Linked DNA regions of Homo sapiens: all the other regions are linked to region 3. The links are contacts of gene promoters, found by promoter capture Hi-C in human tissues and cell types (Jung and others, 2019). All regions are on one chromosome and are shown on one strand. Each heading gives the region's core, a stretch centred on a gene start or on the middle of the fragment in contact. The rest is flanking DNA. Distances are from core to core; before and after follow the strand shown.

The links. Contacts are between HindIII fragments. The study calls those that stand out against the background at their distance.
Region 1: a contact is called between the fragment with the promoter of SWSAP1 here and the fragment with the promoter of FBXW9 in region 3, in 1 of the 25 tissues and cell types used here (dorsolateral prefrontal cortex).
Region 2: a contact is called between the fragment with the promoter of ZNF653 here and the fragment with the promoter of FBXW9 in region 3, in 1 of the 25 tissues and cell types used here (spleen).

The regions. Positions count from the first base shown.
Region 1 is chr19:11,372,891-11,376,522 of GRCh38, reverse strand. It overlaps SWSAP1 (SWIM-type zinc finger 7 associated protein 1), which reads right to left and starts at 1,857. Exons shown (of 2, transcript NM_175871.4): 1 at 1,594-1,857; 2 at 354-1,010. The coding sequence starts at 1,842. The coding sequence ends at 507. RefSeq lists enhancers at 1,128-1,177, 1,198-1,277, 1,508-1,557, 1,778-1,847 and a silencer at 1,948-2,027. The HindIII fragment of the contact is 10,471 bases long and covers 1-3,632 here.
Region 2 is chr19:11,503,966-11,507,841 of GRCh38, reverse strand. It overlaps ZNF653 (zinc finger protein 653), which reads left to right and starts at 2,003. Exons shown (of 9, transcript NM_138783.4): 1 at 2,003-2,354. The coding sequence starts at 2,056. ECSIT (ECSIT signaling integrator) reads left to right here. Exons shown (of 8, transcript NM_016581.5): 6 at 1-140; 7 at 280-385; 8 at 1,414-1,913. The coding sequence ends at 1,658. RefSeq lists enhancers at 1-385, 2,838-2,907 and silencers at 1,808-1,857, 2,018-2,687. The HindIII fragment of the contact is 10,042 bases long and covers 1-3,876 here.
Region 3 is chr19:12,694,547-12,698,710 of GRCh38, reverse strand. It overlaps FBXW9 (F-box and WD repeat domain containing 9), which reads left to right and starts at 2,080. Exons shown (of 10, transcript NM_032301.3): 1 at 2,080-2,538; 2 at 3,773-3,912; 3 at 3,989-4,117. The coding sequence starts at 2,130. RefSeq lists enhancers at 1,751-1,810, 2,121-2,170. The HindIII fragment of the contact is 8,232 bases long and covers 1-4,164 here.

The DNA.
Region 1 (3,632 bases), core at 608-3,107, 1.3 Mb after region 3:
TTTTTTTTTTTTTTTTTTTTGAGATGGAGTCTCGCTTTGTCACCCAGGCTGGAGTGTAGTGGCACAATCTCGGCTCACTGCAACCTCCGCTTCCTGGGTTCAAGCAATTCTCCTGCCTAAGCCTCCTGAGTAGCTGAGACTACAGGCACCTGCCACCACACCCAGCTAATTTTTTTTGTACTTTTAGTTGATACAGGGTTTCATCATGTTGGGCAGGCTGGTCTCCAACTCCTGACCTCTGGTGATCTGACCGCCTCAGCCTCCCAAAGTGCTGGGATTACAGGCGTGAGCCACCACGCCTGGCCTGAAGCTCTTTTTATAAAGTTTAAAGCAATGAAACTATAAACAACATATTGATTGGGTAAAATATATACAAGATAATGCTATACTTTTAAAAGAGAAAAAGCACTTTACATTGTTTAGGTCTTTGGATCTGCATATGTCCCTGAGGTAAGTATTCCAGCCATGGGAAACTGAAGCACAGAGAGGTAGTCACCCACCAAAGCTCAGGGCTGGCCTCCAGAGCTTGAACCCTTGCCTGAGCTGGGGTCACCAGCCTGGGTGGGCCACGGAGCGATCATCATTTCTCCATCTGATCGGAAAGTCACCCACCACTCTGTTCTGGGGCCCAGCCCGCCTGGCTCCAGGCAGGCTCGGAGGCCGTGCTCTCCTGGACCTGGTGCATCTGGCTGCAGCCAGCACTGGGCAGGAAAATACCGCTGGAGCAGTGCCAGGTGCAGGACGTCCCCACTACCTGCTTCCTCCTGGGTCTGGAGGGCCACCATGAGCCCACAATCCCGGCCAGGCCCAAGCCGGTGGCTGAAGTGGGCAGCTGTGTCTAGAAGTAAGGCAATGAGGTAGGCGGCTTCCTGGGGCTCTGGGTCTTCCGCTAGGTACTCTTCTAGGCCGTCGAGCAGCAGAAGGGAGGGGGCTGGCCCCGGGGCCTCATGGGCAGAGCACAGGAGCCGGAAAAGCTCTCGGGTTGAGGGTGGGTACTGGAAGCGGATCTTCTAGAAGGAGAAACAGAAGGAAAGGGCCGGATTCAGCACAGGAAGCCAGACTCCTTAAAAGTAACCCTGCCTCCTTGCATACTTTCCTTGGTTCCAGGATGAACCAGTTCAGAGCTGTTAAATATTCTTATATTCGCCCGTTTTTCCAGCACTCATCACTGCCGAGTATTAGTTGAGGGCAAGCCATTTTTGCTTGTTTGTTTTTGGCCAAATCTCTAGCGCAATTTTTCCACGGAAAACCCTCCCCCAGCATTCTCGGTCTGACCCCATCCTTGACACTAACAGGAACCAACTCAGGTCCAGAATGGACCCAAGCTTAGCCCCGCCCCTTGATGGGCCGGACTTCAATCTCTGGGCACCGCCTCTTGCTAACACCGCCCATCATTGGATGGGCTCTCACTTCAATCTTAACTAAGCTCCGCGTGGTGCCACTCCTCACTCCGCCTGCCTGACTCCGCCCCATCGTGGCTGCCCTGGCTCGCTCTTCCACCGTCCTCTCCATTGGCTTGTCTACCTGTTACTCAATATCCCGGATCTACTCCACCATTGGCTAGAACGCCTCTGCTCCCACCCCCACGGTTACCTGGAGTCGCATTGGGTCTAGAGTCGTTCCGGTCCCGCGGGGCATGCTTTGAAGAGGCCTTCGTGTCAGGAAGAGGACTGGGCCTTGGCCCTCCCCCGCCGCCTCTAGGGCCGCAGCAAATAGCAGCGCTGTTTTTCCAGATCCTGGTGTACCGAGCAGCAGCAAAGGCGGTCCGGCGGCAGGCATGTTCTCCTCCCCGGACCAGGCCGCACCGCCCCTGGTTAGCACCCGCCTCAGCGTCTCCGCCATTCGCCGCGTAGCTCTGACCAATCGGTGGCTCGTTCCCAGCCTTAGTCCCGCCCAAGCCGTGGCCGCATCGGTACAGTTCACTTAGTTTCTCTATTGGTCTAGGAATCTGTCCATCAAAACTCGATTCCTCAGGTGAATGGGCAAATGGTTAGAACCTATGCGGAGGAATGGGTGCATTCGAGGGAAATAAGACCCTTCCCTGAGGGAGGCTGCTGGGGGAACCAGCACGAATACTATTATTGTCAGCTAATCAGACAAATATAAGGGTTGAAAGTTGGAGGAGTAGACCAGAATGAGTGACATATTATTTAAAGGCTCCTAGCCTCAGTTTGCCCTGCTGTAAAATGGGGCTTATGATATCTCAGAGGAGTATTGTGATCGGCATGTATTTGTGTGTGGTTTTGCTGATGTCATCCAATGACAACTGAGAGTTTTGGAGAGGGGGATGAGCTGTGTGCTTGTCTTTCTGTGCACCTGAGTATGGGCCGGAGTGTGTGTCTGGGGACACAGGCTCGTGGACAAAACATCAACGGCCATCCCCGAAAGTCTGTGAGATGAAGCCTCTCAACTTACTTCCTCACTGGCTAAGGGGTTCTGTGGGGCCGCCTTTGTGGTACGGGGGGAAGGCAGGACCGCAGGACAAAGAAGGAAGCAGGAGAGATAAAGAGACAGGAGCTGGAAGACTGAAGGAGAGATACAGCAGGGACATTGTCTTGTTCACTTCTGTTCTCCAGTACCGAGAATAGCACCTAGCACATTTGTAGGTTCTCAAATACGTGCTCGTTAAGACAATGAAGGAAGGGAGGTGGGATTGATGAGAAACAGGGAGAAAGGGAGGAACAAAGTGAATGATCGTGATCCCTGGCTGGATCTTCTCACCCAGACTTCGCCCCAGAGCTGCCACTCACGCCTGTGTTGCCCTGGCAACCTTGTCTCCTGGTAACTCCAAAGTGGTGCCGTTGCCTGGAGACCCAGGGGCAGGGAGAAAGTGAGATTTCCTGGGCTTTCTCTCTCCCTCTGGGACCAGAAAACAGCTCCACGACATCCCCCAACACACCCACTCACACAGCTGGGCTCACTCACACCCCTCTACACACACACACACACACACACACACACCATGGCATCTCTGAATATATTCTACTTTCAGAATCCCCATCATCCACATGCTCCAACCTTGCCCTATCCTGACACAAAGCATCCCATACAAACTCTGTCCCACATTCATCCCCCACACCCTTTCTCTTGCAAAACACGCAACTATGACATTGCCACTACACACACAGACACACACAGTGAAGCACACCGATACACTGCGCTGTCAAACACGCCACCTCAGCCCCCATCCCCCAGCAGATATACAACGCATGATTCACCTCACATTTCAACACTCCAAATGCACATACAGGCCAGGTGTGGTGGCTTATGTCTGTAGTCCCAGTGCTTTGGGAGGCCAAGGCAAGAGGATTGCCTGAGGCCAAGAGTTCAAGACCAGCCTGGGCAATGTAGGGAGACCCCCATCTCTACAAAATACTTCAAAATTAGCCAGGTGTTGGCCGGGCGCGGTGGCTCACGCCTGTAATCCCAGCACTTTGGGAGGCCGAGGTGGGCAGATCACAAGGTCAGGAGATCAAGACCATCCTGGCTAACACGGTGAAACCCAGCCTCTACTAAAAATAGAAAAAAAAATTAGCCAGGCATGGTGGCAGGCGCCTGTAGTCTCAGCTGCTTGGGAGGCTGAGGCAGAAGAATGGCGTGAACCCGGGAGATGGAGCTTGCAGTGAGCCGAG
Region 2 (3,876 bases), core at 754-3,253, 1.2 Mb after region 3:
GTCCCGATCAGCAGGCCGCCCTGGCCCGCCACAATCCAGCCCGGCCTGTCTTTGTTGAGGGCCCCTTCTCCCTGTGGCTCCGCAACAAGTGTGTGTATTACCACATCCTCAGAGCTGACTTGCTGCCCCCGGAGGAGAGGGTGAGGGCTTAAAGCAAAGCATGTGTTGGGGCTGGGGAGTGGGCTGGCACTACCCTGAGGGTGCATGGGAGAGGCTGGAGGAGGGAGACCGAGAGAGCCCTGGCCTCTGACCCCGCCTGCACTCCCCACCTTGGAGTAGGAAGTGGAAGAGACGCCGGAGGAGTGGAACCTCTACTACCCGATGCAGCTGGACCTGGAGTATGTGAGGAGTGGCTGGGACAACTACGAGTTTGACATCAATGAAGGTAAAAACTGGGCCAGGTGCGGTGGCTCACATGTGTGCTCGTAATCCCAGCCCTCCTACAGGCTGAGGTGGGAGGATCACTTGAGCCCAGGAGTTGAGGTTGCAGTGAACTATTATAGAGCCACTGCACTCCAGCCTACATGATAGACCCTGTGTCAAAAAAAAAAAAAAAAAAGGCAAAAACCTGGACAGGCAGGACTTCCAAACATTCCAAACACCACCCAGGATGAGGGGCGGCCTCTGGGGTCAAGGGGTAGGCCCAGGCTGAGACGCAGTCCACTTACACCCTCGTCCTCCGGCCGCACACACTCATTTGCCCCAGGGGCTCCAGACCTGAGGTCACCCAGCCCTGTTGGCCCTTGTTCATTCCCTCCCTCCTACAACTCTGTGCTGGCTACTGGGTGTCACCAGGACAAACCTAGTCCCTCGAGTCAGCAAGGGAACAGGCAAATTACACTTTGGGGAGCTTAGGAGAGGAGCATGCCTTGAGTGGGGGGTCAGGAGGCCTTCCTGGCAGAATACAGAAAAACCAGGAGTCATCGCCCGGGTGAAGTGTGGAGTGGGCAGCCTAGGCAGCGGGGCTAGCTTGTGCAAAGGTTTGGAGGCACAAGAAAGTGGAAGGAAGCCGGGCACAGTGGCTCACGCCTGTAATCCCAGCACTCTGGGAGGCTGAGGCGGGTAGATCATTTGAGGTCAGGAATTCGAGACCAGCCTGGCCAACATGGTGAAACCCCATCTCTACTAAAAATTTAAAAATTAGCCCGGCGTGGTGCTGTGCACCTGTAATCCCAGCTCCTCGGGAGGCCGAGGCAGGAGAATCACTTGAACCTGGGAGGCGGATGTTGCAGTGAGCCGAGATCTCGCCACTGCACTCCAGCCTGGGTGACACAGCGAGACTCCGTCTCAAAAAAAAAAAAAAAAAAAAAAAGGAAGTGGAAGGGAGTGTAAAATACCTCAAAAAGGTGTAGGCATGGGTTAGCCGCTGCAGCCCCCACTGTGCAAACCTTAAGGGTGCATGTCTTCCAACAGTGGAGGAAGGCCCTGTCTTCGCCATGTGCATGGCGGGTGCTCATGACCAGGCGACGATGGCTAAGTGGATCCAGGGCCTGCAGGAGACCAACCCAACCCTGGCCCAGATCCCCGTGGTCTTCCGCCTCGCCGGGTCCACCCGGGAGCTCCAGACATCCTCTGCAGGGCTGGAGGAGCCGCCCCTGCCCGAGGACCACCAGGAAGAAGACGACAACCTGCAGCGACAGCAGCAGGGCCAGAGCTAGTCTGAGCCGGCGCGAGGGCACGGGCTGTGGCCCGAGGAGGCGGTGGACTGAAGGCATGAGATGCCCTTTGAGTGTACAGCAAATCAATGTTTTCCTGCTTGGGGCTCTCTTCCCTCATCTCTAGCAGTATGGCATCCCCTCCCCAGGATCTCGGGCTGCCAGCGATGGGCAGGCGAGACCCCTCCAGAATCTGCAGGCGCCTCTGGTTCTCCGAATTCAAATAAAAAGGGGCGGGAGCGCTGTTGGTTGTGCGCATGCGCAGTTTCCATTCTTGGTCTCCTTTTGGCGCCCTGGGGCAGCGAGAGACCGTGAGAAATTTCTCGGCGGCGCCGAAGATGCGCGCCACTTCCGGTCTGGCTCCTAACAACGGGGGAGGCTGGTAACCAGGGTGGGGGGGATGGCGGAGCGGGCGCTAGAGCCCGAGGCGGAGGCGGAGGCTGAGGCGGGCGCGGGCGGGGAGGCAGCAGCCGAGGAGGGCGCAGCGGGCCGAAAGGCGCGGGGCCGGCCGCGACTCACGGAGTCGGACCGGGCCCGGCGACGGCTCGAGTCCCGGAAGAAGTACGACGTGCGGCGCGTGTACCTGGGCGAGGCGCACGGGCCCTGGGTGGACCTGCGGCGCCGCAGCGGCTGGAGCGACGCCAAGCTCGCCGCCTACCTCATCTCTCTGGAGCGCGGCCAGCGGAGCGGCCGCCACGGGTGAGGGGGCCTGGCCCCGAGGGAGGGAGGGAGGAGACGCCCCCAGACCCCGCCGGGCTTTACCCCGCCCCCTCCGCTTCTAGGGCCAGCCCCCGGCACCTGCGGACCCCGCCCAGGAGCCGGGCCGGCGGCCTGGGTCTCGTACTGCCTGGCCGGGACGCGCCTGGCTCGTGGCCCCGCCTCCCATCGTTCCGACTGCCCAATCCTAGGGTGCACCCAGCCCCTCGACCCGCCTTCTGAGCGCTTGGCCCCGCCCGCTAGAACTCTGGCGGCCCAATCCTGGGACTGGCCCCACCTCCAGGCCTTGTAACTAACCAGGCCCTGGGGGGGCAGCCCCGCCCCCTCACCGGTCTCATCCTCCCCCGCTTAGTTCCCCACCTGGCCTGGGACTCTGGACACCCTGGGGCACTCAGCCCTGCCCTTCTTGAAGTTCTGGTGCCCCATCTGGGACTCCGTATGGCCCCATTCCCACAACCCTAGATCCAACACATCCGGGGGACCCTTCACAACCTGGACTGCACTCCCCTAAACCTATTTCTGTGAAGCAACTCAGCCCAGGGAGACTCGGATGAAGAGGAAACCCCTAGTTAGCTTGGCAGGTGGAGGGCAGAGAGGCCTGTCTTTGTAAATTCTCAGTCTTGAGAAGGAGCAGTGTGGATGGAGTTTTTCCCTTCCTGCCTTATATGTTGATGTGATGATTGAGTTAAAATAGGCAAAGAGCTTAGAAGAGTGCCTGGCAGGTAGTGGGTTCCCTAAGTATTAACTTTTACGAGGATGACGTTTATTCCGTATCACAAGCAGTGCCGCAAGGAAATCCTTGTTCTGCCCTGGTTTTCAGGTACACATGTTCTCATGTTTCTCTGGGGGGAGATTCTGAGAGTCAAGAATCAAACAGATCCTGCTAAGTTATACCCACCCCTTTCCCAGGACAGCAGGCTGGCTTATATGCTCAAGAGCAGGACTGGAAATGCTGGGAGCGCAAAGATACCTGCCTCATGGAGCGGACATTCTGGTGGGCAGAGGGGATGGCTTGTTCAAAGGTCTGGGGGGTTTTTTTGTTCGTTTTTCTTTTCTTTTCTTTTTTTTTGAGACAGAGTCTTGCTCTGTCGCCCAGGCTGGAGTGCAGTGGCACGATCTCCGTTCACTGCAAGCTCCGCCTCCCGGGTTCACGCCATTCTCCTGCCTCAGCCTCCCAAGTAGCTGGGACTGCAGCCGCCCGCCACCACGCCCGGCTAATTTTTTGTATTTTTAGTAGAGACAGGGTTTTACTCTGTTAGCCAGGATGGCCTCGATCTCCTGACCTCGTGATCCACCCGCCTCGGCCTCCCAAAGTGCTGGGATTACAGGCGTGAGCCACCGCGCCCGGCCCTCGTTTTTCTTTTTGAGACAGGGTCTCACTCTCTCGCCCAGAGTGGAATGCAGTGGCATGATCACGGCTTACTGCAGCCTCAACCTCGTGGGTTCAAGTGATCCTCTTACCTCCGCCTCCTGAGTAGTTGGGACCACAGGTGCACGTCACTCC
Region 3 (4,164 bases), core at 831-3,330:
CTCCCTGGCTCAACCAGTCCTCCCACCTCAGCCACCCAAGTAGCTGGGACTACAGGTGCATGCCACCATGCTGGCTAATTTTTGTATTTTTTGTAGAGGGGGTTTTCGCTATGTTGCTGAGGCTGGTCTTGAACTCCTGGGCTCAAGCAATCCACCTACTTTAGCCTCCCAAAGTGCTGGGATTACAGGTGTGGGCCACCGCCCCCAGCCAAAATAAAATCTTACTGCAACCTTGGTGTGGCCCAAAGACCAACGTGGGAAAATTTAAAAATACTGACACACATCCAATATTCAACAAATAAGTCCTGCATTCTAGTGAGAGGATAGAGTATAAAAAGTGGAACTGTGCTAAGTCCTATAGAGAAAAACAGGAAGGCAGAGAGAATGGTGGGGGAAACGGTTGAAATCTTATGTAGGGTGACCTGCAAAGGCCACACTGAGAAGACGATGTTTGAACAGAGCCATGGAGAGAAGAGTGTCAAGTAGAGCAAACAGCAAGGACTGCGCAGATGACCTACGTGGATTGGTTAGCTGCCTGGCTCAAAAGAGGCTTGCAGTAAATACCTGCAGTTTTTTTGTTTGAGACGGAGTTTTGCTCTTGTTGCCCAAGCTGGAGTGCAATGATGCCATCTCGGCTCACTGCAACCTCCGCCTCCCAGGCTCAAGTGATTCTCCTGCCTCAGCCTCTGAGCAGCTGAGATTACAGGTGCCTGCCACCACACCCGGCCAATTCTTTGTATTTTTAGTAGGAAGGGGTTTCACCTTGTTGGCCAGGCTGGTCTTGAACTCCTGACCTCAAGTGATTAACCCACCTTGCCTCTCGAAGTGGTGGGATTACAGGCCTGAGCCACCGCACCCGGCCAACATGCTGTTTTAGTAAGTGTGATGTTAGGCCGGGCGCAGTGGCTCACGCCTGTCATCCCATCACTTCGGGAGGCTGAGGCGGGCGGATCACGAGGTCAGGAGTTTGAGACCAGCCTGGCCAACATAGTGCGACCCCGTCTCTACTGAAAAATACAAAAATTAGCCAGGAGTGGTGGCGCGTGCCTGTATTCCCAGCTACTCTAGAGGCTGAGGCAGGAGAATCGCTTGAACCCGGGAGGCGGAGGTTGCAGCCAGCCGAGATCGCGCCACTGCACACCAGCCTGGGTGACAGAGTGAGACTCCGTCTCAGAAAAAAGAAAAAGGTAGCTTTCCACCAGGCGCGATGGTTCACGCCTGTAATCCTGGTACTTTGGGAGACCAAGTTGGGGGCGGATGGCTTGAGCTCAGGAGTTCCAGACCAGCCTGGACAACGTAGTGAAACCCTGTCTTTACAAAAGAATACAAAAATTAGCCGGGTGTGGTGGTGCGCGCCTGTAGTCCCAGCTACCTGGGGGGCCGAGGTGGAGGATCACTTGAGTCCAGAAAGCGGAGGTTGCAATGAGCCAAGCACTCCGCTTGGAGGACTGAACTGCTGTCCTCCAAGGTTGGGTTGGGGAATGGGGTCTGGAGAGGTAGTTCTGAGGCCCCAGTTCCTTTCTCAAAAAAAAAAAAAAAAAAAAAAAAAGTCACTTAACTGATGCCTCTGCAGTGTAACTGCATATTTCTGGCTCTGGGAAAAGAGGCAAGAGTTCCAATCTCTACTCCTTGAACTCGGAAAGGGGCCTTTGGGTTTCTAAGCTCAGTGTCACATATAACAGATGCCTTCGTTAAAGCAGTGTTTATTTTATGTCTAATTTAAAGAGACAGGGTCTCACTATGTTGCGCAGGTTGGAGTACAGTGGCACAACCATGGCTCACTGCAGTCTCGAACTCCTGGACTCAAGGGATCCTACCCCTTCACCTTCCTGAGTATCTGGAACTACAGGCGCGCGCCACCCCGCCTGGCTTGAGTTTCGTTTTTAGCTAGAGTTGGCTGGCTCTCGGTATCGGCTAGTTTAAAAAGCGCAGAAACAGGAACCTGCATTTTCCAGCCTAAGGCCGACGCAGTTGCAAGAGACCCTGTAAGCGGGGCGATGTTCTGTATTAAGCCAGTGTCTGACTTCGTCGCTTCCGGTGGGCGCATAAACGTCATCAGACAGCGCCGGAAGTGCCCTCGTGCTGCCTAGGAGACAAGACGCGAGGCCGGCAGCGCCCACCCGGTCGCAATGGAGCTTCCCCTAGGGCGGTGCGATGATTCCCGCACCTGGGACGATGACTCGGACCCAGAGTCAGAGACAGACCCAGACGCGCAGGCCAAGGCCTACGTGGCCCGCGTTCTCAGTCCGCCAAAATCCGGGCTGGCGTTCTCGCGCCCCTCGCAGCTATCCACACCCGCCGCGTCCCCGAGCGCTTCGGAGCCTCGGGCCGCGTCCAGGGTTTCGGCCGTAAGTGAGCCGGGCCTTCTGAGCCTTCCCCCGGAGCTGCTGCTCGAGATCTGCTCCTACCTGGACGCCCGCCTCGTGCTCCACGTCCTGTCGCGGGTGTGCCACGCGCTCCGCGACCTCGTGTCTGACCATGTCACCTGGAGGCTACGCGCGCTACGCCGCGTACGCGCGCCCTACCCAGTGGTGGAAGGTGCGCGGGGCCGGGGGCCGGGGACCGGGGGCCGGGGGCGCCCGCCCAGGTCAGGCTTGGGGCGGGGAAGAGGTACATGGGGTGTTCCGGATGCAGCCTCTGGTGCAGGCTTCGTGGCTGTCCTGGCTCAGGCTGGAGGCTAAGGTAGTTACTGGTGGTGCCGAAGCCCCTGAGGACCTCTGGGTGGACCACGAGGCAGTCAGGCACTTGGGGTCCTGAGGCTGTGAAACCCTAACATGGGGCTGTGGTTCCTGGACGACTCAGGATCCAAATATCCTCAGTCTTGGGGTCTTGTGGTACTAAGCCACTGACCCCTGATTGGGGATTGACACAGGGACTTGAAGTCTTAGGCTCTGGAGTTTATGCTGGGGCTCAAAGTGAGCCCAAGGATCCTCAGGTTCTGAGTCCAGCTTAGAAGCTGAGACAGCACCTGTTGATGTCAAAACTCCTGAGCCCTAGAGCCTTGACCCAGTTAGGGGTGAGACAGTGGCTCTTGGCCCTGAGTTGATTGGTTCCTGAGGGAAGACAGCTTGGGACCTTTGAATCGATATTGTTGATCCTGATACAGCTGGATCCTCAGGCCCTTAAGCCAAGATGTATTACAGCTTGGGTGTTTGATACCCTTAACCTGGAAGCTTTGATTCTGCTTAGAGAGGAATCAGGATCACTCCGGGATCAGTGATTCTCAAGGTGTTGCCATCCAACCCCCAGGTCAGACTCTCCCAAACAGCTTAATAAACATAGATGCTTGGACCCCGTCCATATCACAGAATCTGCATCTGGGGCTTGCATTCTGCATCTTGACAAGGCTCCCTGGTTTCCAGATACTGTTTGAGAAACAGCCCCCTTGGTCTGGTTCAGATGGCTGAGGCAGGAAGGGTTAGTCATGAGGTCCCAGCTTCTATGCTGAGCCTGAGGTCAGACCTCAACATCCTGAGACTGCTCTGCCCTGAGTTTGGGTTGGGGGATGGCGCCTGGAGAGGTAGTTCTGAGACCCCAGTTCCCAATTTCTGGAAATTGGAGTGAGTAGTCCTAGACCTGCCTGGGAAATGGGCAGGCAGGTGGTCCCAAGACCACAGCCTGGGTCGGCTTGGGGTGGGAGTAGGGATCTCCATGGGGTTCTGTCCAAGTCTGGTGTAGTGTGGGCTCCCTGGAAGCCAGGGTTGGGCTTGGCCAGCTGGCATGGGTGCTAGGGTCCCTGCCCACTGGGCACCCTACTCGTGGTAACCCACAGAGAAGAACTTTGACTGGCCGGCAGCCTGCATTGCGCTGGAGCAGCACCTGTCCCGCTGGGCAGAGGATGGGCGCTGGGTCGAATACTTCTGCCTGGCCGAAGGCCACGTGGCTTCCGTTGACTCAGTGCTGCTGCTCCAGGTGAGACGGGGTCTGTGGGGGGCCAGGCAGGGTGGGCCAGGGTGGCCCTGACAACATCACCTTGCTCCCTTTCCAGGGTGGGTCACTCTGTCTGTCGGGCTCCCGAGATCGCAACGTCAACTTGTGGGACCTGCGGCAGCTGGGGACGGAGTCCAACCAGGTTCTGATCAAGACCTTAGGCACTAAGCGAAATAGTACCCATGAGGTGAGGAGTCAGGTGGGGATAGGAGGTATGAGGCCTGAGTAGGGCAT